3 separate regions of the Homo sapiens genome follow, and all the other regions are linked to region 1. Evidence: promoter capture Hi-C in 16 types of primary human blood cells and fetal thymus (Javierre and others, 2016). All regions are on one chromosome and are shown on one strand. The core of a region is centred on a gene start or on the middle of the fragment in contact, and the rest is flanking DNA. Distances in the headings are between cores, read along the strand shown. Region 1 holds the start of NPL (N-acetylneuraminate pyruvate lyase). Region 2 overlaps IER5 (immediate early response 5). Region 3 overlaps EDEM3 (ER degradation enhancing alpha-mannosidase like protein 3).

Evidence for each region. Contacts are between HindIII fragments. The CHiCAGO score rates a contact against its expected background, and 5 or more counts as called.
Region 2: a contact is called between a fragment that was not itself captured here and the fragment with the promoter of NPL in region 1, in 1 of 17 cell types (M2 macrophages). The highest score is 6.9, in M2 macrophages.
Region 3: a fragment that was not itself captured here is called in contact with the fragment with the promoter of NPL in region 1 in 1 of 17 cell types (monocytes); the score reaches 5.5 in monocytes.

Annotation. Positions count from the first base shown.
Region 1 is chr1:182,788,018-182,791,915 of GRCh38, reverse strand. It overlaps NPL (N-acetylneuraminate pyruvate lyase), which reads right to left and starts at 2,143. Exons shown (of 13, transcript NM_030769.3): 1 at 2,111-2,143. RefSeq lists an enhancer at 1,990-2,490. The HindIII fragment of the contact is 6,627 bases long and covers 1-3,286 here.
Region 2 is chr1:181,092,272-181,096,101 of GRCh38, reverse strand. IER5 (immediate early response 5) reads right to left here. Exons shown (of 1, transcript NM_016545.5): 1 at 3,202-3,830. Among named protein-coding and RNA genes, the nearest start is that of IER5, 5.5 kb to the right of the region's middle. The HindIII fragment of the contact is 1,205 bases long and covers 1,936-3,140 here.
Region 3 is chr1:184,745,744-184,749,391 of GRCh38, reverse strand. The region is part of intron 2 of EDEM3 (ER degradation enhancing alpha-mannosidase like protein 3); the gene reads left to right. Among named protein-coding and RNA genes, the nearest start is that of EDEM3, 7.3 kb to the left of the region's middle. The HindIII fragment of the contact is 3,747 bases long and covers 1-3,606 here.

The sequences.
Region 1 (3,898 bases), core at 894-3,393:
CTTCGTTACCTCTTATCTAGACAAATAGGCAAAACCCCAGGTCCACAGGGCCCAAGAAGGTTCAAGTGATAAGAGTCCTGAGAGCTTGAGTCAGCATTAAACACCTCCTAAATCCAACACTACTAGGCTGTTCAGGCTAAATAAAACTCCGTAGTCTTGTGCTTTTGCCTGCATTTATTTGATACTAAGGACGGTAACACTGATGTTCTTAGAATCATCAGAAGCTCAAATTGGCAGTTTTATATGTCTTTAATGGAAAGAAATAAAACTAATTACCACAAATGTAGTTTGATTAGTTCAAAAATTCAAAACAAGGGGCCGTTGGGAGTGTAGGATAGGGGTTAGGAATCACTGTCCTAATCCCTCTTCTCTTCTTCAATCCACACCAGCTGTCAGATTAATCTTCCAGTAACACCAGCATTTCTGGTCTTGTCTTTGTCCTGTTTAGAAAATGCCAGTAGGCTAAAGAACCAGCTCCCTGGGGTCTGGGTCTCTATTGAAATCTTCGTGCCTGCACTATACTTGCCCAGCTGAACAAACTGTTTGCTGTTCCTCCTATCTACCTTTCACTGTCTGTCTGCTTGCCTTTGTTCCTGTGGTTCTCTCACTTCAATCTCTTCGGTCTGATCAACTTTTAAAGCTCACTTTATCCATTCCAGCAGGTATAGCTTAAAAACAAAAACAAACAAAAACCAAAAAACCTCTCATTTTAAAAACCAGGGGATTTCCTGATACCCCAGCCGAAAATAATTTCTTAAACCTCAGAATTCCCCCAAACAGTGGCTTTTCATTAAAAACCTTACATCAGAGTTATTAAGCAGGGTGGTTTTGGCTCCTCTCCTAGACTGTCTGCCATCTGGGGGCAATGGCAGCTTGGAAAATTTCTTTGCACAGATAACTACACTACGTAAAAGTTTGCTGCCTTTGCAAACTTTGAAACGCCTACAGGAAGAAATGGGATAAAAACGACTTTGGCCGGGCGCGGTGGCTCAAGCCTGTAATCCCAGCACTTTGGGAGGCCGAGGTGGGCGGATCACCTGAGGTCAGGAGTTCGAGACCAGCCTGGCCAACATGGCCAAACCCCGTCTCTACTAAAAATACAAAATTAGCCGGGCGTGGTGGCGGGAGCCTGTAGTCCCAGCTACTCGGGAGGCTGAGGCAGGAGAATGGCGTGAACCTGGGAGGTGGAGCTTGCAGTGAGCCGAGATAGCGCCACTGCAGTCCGGCCTGGGCGACAAGAGCGAGACTCCGTCTCAAAAACAACAACAACAACAACAACAACAACAACAACAACAACAACAAAAGACTTTAACAGAGAATGATCAGTATTTTTAAGATTCAAGTTTTTAATAAACTTGGGAATGTTATGCTTTGAAGCATAACAGATAATTATCATTATTTTTAAGATTCAAGTTTTAGATAAACTTGGGAATGTTATGCTTTGAAGTTTTCAGAGCTCGTAGCTAAAGCGAATAGCTCAAATGTTCTCCAGCCTAAGGCTTAATGTGAATTTAGATTATTACTGAAACATTGGGAGGGGGTATTACTCTTGAAATCTTATACCTCCATCCACAGATAAGAACACTCAGTGCAAAGAATTAAAGCTGCCTAAGTCAAATTCTTTTTTAAATGGCAAAGTTGTTTTTTTAAGAGACAGAAAGTGAGGGCAGAATGTACCTCTGGGCAGAGAATATCTTGAGGGACAGGTACTCGGAGAAGAGGAGATACAAATAGGGATTTTTAAAAAAGCAGAAAACCACCAATTTCTCCTCAAGTGAAGGGGGGATGTATCAGGTTTAACTTTAAGCTCTCTTCTGCTCAATTGCTAACTCTATTTTGAGGAAAGGACCTTTGGAGACCCGGCAGATATGCTGTCTGCAAACAATCCGGGGGAGTAAGTTCTTCTGCCCCCGTCTGTCCCTACACTTTTCGCATTCACACCTTCCCCAGATCCGTTTCCCAGCGTATCTGCCTTCCCTCTTTCCTCCGGGTCCGTCAACGTCTCACCCACCCGCGAGTCAGGCCCCAGCGCCCCTCCGCCCGAACGCCCAGGTCGTCGGGCCGTCTGCGTCCGTCTGTCCTAGCCCGTGCCGTCGCGGGCCGCGCTCACCCAGGCCTCCGCTCTTGTCCGTGCAGCCGCTCCGCCCGGCAGCCGCCGCCGCGCTTTATATCCGCGGCCGCCCGGCTCGGGCCCACGTGCCGCCACGCCAGGGAGCCTGGGGGTTGTAGTTCTGCGCCGCCGCCCGCGAGGCGCGCCCGGAACCGCTGGCCCGGAAACCCCGAAACGTTTTGCACACTGGAGTCTGCTCTTCCCCGGGTGTCACCTGAACAACATGGGCTGAAGTGACTCCGGCGCAGCGCCCCGGCTCCCCGAGGATCGGAAGCATCCGAACTGGCGGCCGGGTGCCCGAGAGCACGCGGCTCACCCGCGCCACGCCGAGTGCAAACCTCCCCCTGCCTCGTCTGCACGCCAGTCCTTCCCGCGTGCGGGCACCTCCTGGGCTCCGCTGCGTCTTAATTTTCCTTCTCTTGCGCAGGGCTCTGCAATCCCCACTATCTCGTGGTTCTGCGTTGTGAGGTTTGGGCTGCTGTTTCCGAGGCGTACGGAGAATCCCAACTGCCCATCGGCGTTCAGGTCTCTTCGGGTTGACGCCGCTGCACCAGCCCTGCAGACTCTCGTGTTAAAGAGAGATGAGCGAATTTTAAAGTGAATTATCTACTCATACGGGAGCTTTCCTGGCTTCTTTTGGAGAACATTTGAAAGAGTTTTGAAAGGGAAAATTATTTTTAACCCAACCGCCTCTACTTTCAGGAGTATCAGGAGTCTTATTCTAGGATCATGTACTGTGTGAATAAATCAGGAACAGAGCCAGAGACAAGTCCTCAGTTTTCTCTTGCTGATGTGATTCCACCTCAATTTTCCATAAAAGGCGATGGCTGATGCTTATTATTACATTTAGAGAAACTAAATTGTTCAAAGGGCTTTCTAGTTTGCAAAGTGCTTTTAAATGTATTCTAATAGTTCTTTCGTTGCACAGAGCACCAGAGATAATAGCTAATAAGTACTGTGTTCAGTGCTTACTCAGCCTGCACCGTTCTAGCTGTTTTAACATTTAATTCATAAAATAATCCCATTGGTGGGTCCTGTTTTATAAATGTATATATTACAGATGAGCAAGGATCATTCCATTTTACAGATCAGAAACAGGTTTAAAGAGTTGAAGTAATTTGCCAAAAGCCATAGAGCTGGTTAAGCTGTGGTTTGATTTCAAGTAGTCCAGAAGCTTGTGCTTTTAACACTATGTTATCCTACAGGAAAAAAAAATACAAAAAGAAAAGAAAAAGAAAAACCCTTAGTTACATGAAGCAAGTTCTCCTAAGGCTGCAGCATGGTTTTTGTTTTGGTTTGGTTTTTGTAATATTAACAAGAATATTATATCCTAATGGTACAATGAAAGTTTTTTTTTTTTTTGGAAAGTCACAGTTTAATAAGTGCAAAATTAAGTATGTCAGTACCCAAAAGGTATAGGTCATTAGGCTTAACATTGTCAACCAACAAACCAATATTCTAAATGCATGAACTAACTACTTTTTGTATAAATATGGTAGTGCAAAGTAATTCCTTATAATAATTTGTTAGTGTCTACCAAGAAGCAGATGCTAAGATGGGATTAGATGTGCAAGAAACTTACTGGGGGAGGGATTTGGAGCAGACAGGAGCAGCCTGCAGACTGATGTAGGGCTGACATCTGTGGAACAAAAGATGGAAGAAAGGAGCATGGAGTAGGGAGAGTCTCACTGCATTCTTACAGTATCCACTCTGTGCCGTTATGAAACTCAGAGCCTATACTGTGAAGTGTTGGGGAGACGTTGTTTTAAAATATGGTAAATGCAGTGA
Region 2 (3,830 bases), core at 1,289-3,788, 1.7 Mb after region 1:
GATCAACATAGAGAAAAACTCATGGATGGTATCTTGGATTCTGGAAGAGGATCAAGTGTAGAGAGTACCAAAGGAAATCCTACACTTCAGAGACAACATCAGTGTTTGCACAGAGGGAACAAAATGGTTTTTCTTTTACCTCACAGCATGCAAGTTTCCAACAGCTGCTCTGCCCCGACTTGAGAGGTGGAATGGGTTGAAGAACAAGCAGGTGGGAACACATGGCTTTCCGCACATCCCTGAATTCTAGAAAAACTGAAAGGAGCCTTGTCTTGGCATCTGATAGAACGATTGGGCTGGGGCAACCTTGCAGAGGCCCCATTCATAGGGAAAAAGCAGAGGGCTGGGACCAGGACTGCCTTGGTGCTAAATGGATGGAAAAGGGGCAGCTGTCTCACCATCCTGTAAGTTAGGGATATGGCTTACCACACAGGCCTAGAGGCTTCTTGTGACCAGGTCCCAGAAAACTTTATTACATAAAAAGTAGATTTACTGCAAATATCCCAGATGATAACGGTTTGCCTCTATGTCCCCACCCAAATCTCAAGTTGTAATCCCCAGTGTCAGGGGAGAGAAGTAATTGGATTATGGGGTGGTTCCCCCATGCTGTTCCCATGATAGTTTTATAAATGGTAGTTTTTCCCGCGCTTACACGTGCCCTCACCTGCTGCCATGTAAGACGTGCCCGCTTCCCCTTCCACCATGATTGTAAGTTTCCTGAGGCTTCCCCAGACATGCGAACTGTGAGCCAATTAAATCTCTTTTGTCAGTTACCCAGTCTTGGGTATTTCTTTATAGTGGTGTGAAAACGGACTAATATAATACACCAGGCCAGCTCTATGCCAGTCCCCTAAAAGAATCACCTGCTAGAGATGCTCAGTAGCAGTGCTGGGTACCAGCCCTTCTTCCTGCAGCTTCCAAAAGCTGATAGCCAATACTCTATTTCACCTGCCCATAAGTGGGCAGCATCCGGTGATAGAGGCTGCTGCTGGTCTGGAGAGGAAAGAGGAGAGGCCCTTTCAGGAATGCAGTCCCTGGAGGTTTCTCCTTCCCTGCCTGAAGGATTCCAGAGGTCTGAGATAAACCCCAGGCTGTAGTCCAGCAAAGAGCTTTGGGCTGTATTCCTCTGGGAGACAGCAATTGCTAGAGAGAGATTTTATTTTAAAACCCCCATTCCCACTGCGGGAGGGAGCAGTGGTAGCAGGCATTGGGAAAAACTGTGTTTGAATCAGGAAGGAGGCATTCAGCTAGATGTGCGTATCCTTTCACACTTTCTGCTCTTCCACATTTGTTCCCTATCGTACCCTTAAGAATTATTACTGAAAAACTCCAAGGGCATGTGTTAAGATCACAGTGATTCCTAACATCAACTCTCCTTCTATGTTTTTTCCTCCCAAGGCTTTCCACTGGGTTGAATTTTAAATTTGAACAATGGTTCAAAGGCTGAGAGACAAACTGCTCATTACTGGAAAGAGTGCCAGGAATCCTGGGAAGCAGGCCTCCCTCCCCACCGGAGCACTGCACCTCATAGTAATGGCCTCTTTCATAGTCACGGAAAGGTTGGATCAGCGTTTCTTTTCATTCCTGTCTTTTTTCAGGGACTGCTGGGATAAAAGGAAGTCTAGAAGAATAAAAAATTCACAAACAGGAGAAGAATAAAATATTTAGGGCAAGAGATCAGAAATCCTTTGGTTATTCAGTGAACTGAACTAACTCTACTTTTTTTTAAAAAAGTACAAGGAAATAAATGTCCATCAAATGCCATATCACAGTGGGATTAGCCTGTCGACCCCATCACACAGGATCTGAGGCTAGGTTATCATGCCTAGTAAGTTGCAGTAAGAGAGACTCAGACTAACCCAGTGATAAGATGGAACAGTTTTATAATTATTAATTTCATTCCCAATATTTCTGACATCTTTATTCTGAGAAGCTTTCCACCAAAGTTGTCAAATGACCCATTTCCTCTCACTTCACACTCCCAAATCCAATCAGTGATGAGTAGAAGGAATGGAAAGGTTATTTGGTGCCATAAAGAAAACCCAGTCACCTTGGAGGAGCAATTCAGGCTTTCCATCATTAGTTCCCATCGCCAAGAACAAATGATGGTTTCTAAAAGGGAAGACAGGGTTAAAACAACATGGTTGAGAAGTACATACTAGGCCGGGGGCAGTGGCTCACGCCTGTAATCCCAGCACTTTGGGAGGCCAAGGCAGGTGGATCACCGGAGGTCAGGAGTTTGAGACCAGCCTGGTCAACATGGTGAAACCCCGTCTCTACTAAAAATACAAAAGTTAGCCAGACGTGGTGGTGCATGCCTGTAATCCCAGCACTTTGGGAGGCTGAAGCAGGACAATCGCTTGAACTAGGGAGGCAGAGGTTACAGTGAGCTGAGATCACACCACTGCACTCTAGCCTGGGTGACAGAGCAAGACTCTGTCTCAAAAAAAAAAATACATTACTAACATTTATCCCTTTATTCTCTTTTTTCCCACCACCACACCTGGCTAATTTTTATATTTTTAGTAGAGACAGGGTTTCACCATGTTGGCCAGGCTGGTCTTGAACTCCTGACCTCAGGTGATCCACCTGCCTCGGCCTCCCAAAGTGCTGGGATTACAGGTGTGAGCCACCGCGCCCAGACTTTATTCCCTATTAATGTGATCTTCTTGGAGTACTTGTTGGAAAGCACTTTAAACATCTGGCTTTTACGCAGCAGTCAGAAGGTTTTTTTACACCCCAGAGCTAAGGTTAATTTGATCAAGAGACTAGGTCCCTCCCAGAGTGGTGAAGAAGTGGTTAGGTACTAAAACCATGGCATCGTTTCTAGTCACACTGCATCTGATTTGGTTGTGTGATAGCCCTAGGTTGGCATTGGGAAGGCTCTTGTCCAGAACCTATCAATAAGCATGTTTTAAACATTCCATGCGCAATAATTCAAGCAAAAATAACTTTATGGGCTACTTTTTTCTTTACTCATCCACAGAAAGCATTTGTATGTCAACAAGAACTTTGCTCCTTGCCTGTTTTCACTTCAGCTTACTCCTCCCTGAAAATAGAGTTGTTTGATACAATTGGAAAAATCATCCGGTTGGTGTGAGACATTCACAGCAACAAAACTATGTTGGTAGAACAAAGCTTCCTGACTGCCAAGTGTCCAGAGAAAAAGAGGAATAAAAGAACCCAGCATTCACACATAGGACCACTTAAAAATAGATTCTCCATTCTCCTCTTTTCTTACAAATACACACAAATCTTTGACCACAGTGTATCTGATTTATACACAGAATTAACTTCTACATTAACAATAATTAACAGTTGCGTGCTTATTACATATGAGGTACTCTTCTAAGAGCATTAACTCATTAATTTTCACAACCCTATGAGACAGATCCAATTATCCCAATTTTACATTTGAAAAACCTGAGGCACAGAGAGATGAAGTAACTTGTCCAAGGACCCACAGCTAGGTGGCAGAGCCAAGATAGAAAAACCCAAGCAGGCCAGGTTGTGGTGGCTCATGCCTGTAATCCCAGCACTTTGGGAGGCTGAGGCAGGAGGATTGCTTGAGGCCAGGAGTTCAAGACGAACCTGGTCAACATAGCTCACTTTATATTTACTTTTTATAATTAAATAAATAAATAAATAAAGGAAGACACCAAGCAGCCTGGCTCCAGGGCCCATGCTCTAACTACTATACTATACTGCTTCTGCAACAAAAAAGAGAATGATCTTTTCTAATTCCTACAAAGCTTTATCCTCCTATCAAGTATGCCAATTTACATTCTTTAAGCAGACACATGGACCCAGGTTCATCTTAATGTAAAACC
Region 3 (3,648 bases), core at 484-2,983, 2.0 Mb before region 1:
TAGGGAACCAGTTTATTGAACAGATAAGAATAAATTGAAATTAGATTATGAAACTTCATTATTTAAACAGCTTCCTTGGGTGCCATCAACAATTATCATTGAGTGCTTTATATAGCTAGATATTGTGGATATATACATGAAGATGTTATCTCTGGTCTTAAGGGAGATTATTCTCTTAATTTAAAAAAATGTTTACAATATTTATACACTGAAGAAAACCATTGCTTAAAAGAGAAATTGTTACTTAGCCTCTGTCCTAATTGTATCCTCATGGACTCTGCACTGAATATATTTTGCTTTTTAGTTTGCTGATTCATATTATTTAAAAATGTTTTAGGGCTCACTTAAGATTAAATAGCAGTTTCAGTTTTACAAGATGAAAAGTTCTGGAGATCTGTTGTGCAACAACGTAGATGAAATAGCAAATTCTGGAATTCAAAAAAAATTTTGCACATAAATTGTAATTTGAAAAGAGTTTAAGCATATTATCCTGAAACTTATCCCTTATAACCTTGTTTTTACATTTTAAAATATGTCAGCAGATTTTCTTCTATGATTACAACGTATAAAATGTAGTTGGGAAAGTTTGGCAGAGGACTAGCTTTAGTTCTGCTTAAAATATTTTTCAACTGATTCTGTGAATCCATTTTTTATCATATATTAACCAAATATCTTCATACACTAACATCATTGTTATCTATGAACATCTAAATATATGTAATTTATGCATTTTTAGTTTTAAAACATGTTTTATATTTGACAGTCCTCGTTCTCTTTTATATTGTAAATTTGGAGAGAGCACATTTTGAGTTCTTAATGTTTTTAGGATATGATTTTTTTTGGATACATTTCAACATTAAAAACACAGTTTCAAATTTATTTCTCAAGACCTCAGTCATTCCCTTAATGTTTTTTTTGTTTTTTGTTTTTTGTTTTTTTTTTTGAGACGGAGTTGTGCTCTGTCGCCCAGGCTGTGGAGTATAGCGGCACTATCTCAGCTCACTGCAGCCACCACCTCCCAGGTTCAAGTGATTCTCCTGCCTCAGCCTCCTGAGTAGCTGGGATTACAGGTGTGTGCCACCATGCCTGGCTAATTTTTGTATTTTTGGTAGAGATGGGGTTTCACCATGTTGGCCAGGCTGGTCTCGAACTTCTGACTTCAAGTGATCTGCCCACCTCTGCCTCCCAAAGTGTTGGGATTACAGGTGTGAGCCATTACACCCGTTCTGTTTTTTAATTAATTTTTTTTTGTCACCCACATGTCAACCCTTATTTCTTTCAAAATCATTTATCCCTGGTTAATTCAGTTTGGGCAAAGCATAATTTAACAAATCTAGGCTAATGATTTTGAGATGGCCAAGTGGTTCCATCCTATACCCTCAGACCTTAGCCATCTCATAAATGCGTACTGATGAATGCAGTTCCAAAGTTAAATAAAATAGCATATAGCTGGATAAGTTCAGTTTCTCACAATGAATAGGATCATCTCTTTATAAAGCATGGTATCTTTAATATCTTGTTCTTTTTAGGTAGAACAGTTATATCAATGGCAGAAAGTTATATCAATACATTTTTTCTAACTATAGAATACACTTAGTAGGTTTGTGACAGTGCAGGTACTGAGGGCAGCTTTCAGAGGACTTTCTGGCCTGTGCCTATTGGGACCTAACTGAGTAACTTTCTGCTACAATTAACTACTTAATAAGATTTAAGAGAGAAGGATTTCAGCTTCAAAGACTGGGAACTCTTGAAAGTAACATTGTCTTATATATTTCCAGTGGGACCATACGTGTCCACTGTAATATGTATTTTAAAATGTTCAACTATTTTACAATGTGAGTGACTCTTGCTGTGTACTTCTTCTATATTCAATCTGTGTGAGGTCTGTAACCCAAGATTTAGTCTAGAATTTACACTTCCTCTTTTCAAGTTCTCAACTAACATGACACAGTTCTAAAATATTAACGAGAATACAGTTGCCTTGTATTTGTTATTTGAAGTCAGTTGGAAATTTTTTTCCGGTCCCTACACTCAGAAACACTTTTAGCTTTCTGTAGGGTAAAAGTGTATAGGTTTTGGAGTTAGAAGGGCTTGAGTTCAAATCCTGTCTCAGCTATTTACAGGTTGGACCCTAAACAGGTTATTTAACCCATCTGAGCAGTGTCTTTCTATGTAAAATGAGAATAATTGCAAAGAGTTATTGTAGACTATAGATTTTTTTTTAAAGAACAGGAACCAATTTCTTTAATTTTTAATACATTCACCTTTTTTATATGTCTTGTGCCTGGTACATAAATGCTTAGCAAATTTTTTTGAAAGAACTGAATTGAATTCTTGTGAAGATGAAGTAAAATAATGTTTTTTTTTTTTTGCATTTGATCATTGTGATATATCTTTGTGTTTAAATGCAAAGAAATAATAAACTTAATTAAAAATACAAGTTTAAGGTGAATTTCAGGGCCTGTAAGTCATTTACTTTTTTGTAGTCAGTTGCCTACTATCCTAAAATATAAAATGCCTGGTACATGGCAGGCTTTTAATAAATGTTGAAAGTTTTTCCTCATTTCTCACTAGTTCTTTCTAATACTACTCTCCAGTCTGGTCTACAGTAGAACAATTCCTTTAACCTTCTTGCTTCCCAGGAAAGCAGTGGTGTTTTCCAAAGACAAGCAATATAGTATTATTAAGAGCAAGAACTCTGGACTTGGAGCAGGACACCCTGAGATGGCTCTGCCACCTCTCATCTGGGTTACAATGGGAAAGTTACCTAGTCTTCCTGAGCCTGTTTCTTCATCTCTGCAAAATGAAGACAATGGTTTGCCAGCCTCACAATGTTGTTAGAAGGATTAAGCAAGTTAATATAATGAAAGTGCTTAGAACTAATATCTGGCAAATAGGAAGCATGATGTAAGAATTTACTGCTGCTACTGATAACGACTACTACTATCATTATTATTTATTTCCTGCCTAAATTGAAATTGCCCTCCTAAAATCCACTTAGCCTGTAACTCAGAACTTGTTCTCCAGATAGTACATAGAACTTGCTTAAAGCGCATACATTCTTTCCTGTTCTTGGCATGTGCCCTTTGAACTTACTTTCTATTAATGTAATAGAAGGTTCTATTAATGCTATTTCTTAATAGAAATGTCCTGCCAGCTTTAGGTAGATTACTACAACTCTGCCATCTCTGGACTTAAATCTAGGGATTTTTGGGTTTTTAACACTTATTGGCATGACTATTAATAACGACTATGTTTGACAAATGTCTAGCCCCAGTCAGTCTGCAGTTTACCCACAGTGAATTGCACAGATGGCTTTCTCGTTTACCAAATGACATGAATTTGATGTTTATCTTAGCAGTTCTTGTGTGACCTTATTTAACCCCAGGCCACAGTCACTTTAGGGCTTCTGTTAGCATGTTTTGAGTATTTGTGTTCAGTTTAGTTTGCAGATTAATTTAGATGACAAAATGACATGTATTTGGGCCATCCAAATGTAGAACCTTTTTGGAGCTCCCAGTGTTTTTCCTGTCTGTGTTAGACAACTCAAACTGTTACAAGCAAAAACTATATTCTGGTAAGAGCCCTAAACATTAAAAATAAGCTTGGATAGAGTTGGTAAGCACAATTTCCTTTAGTAGAATCGTA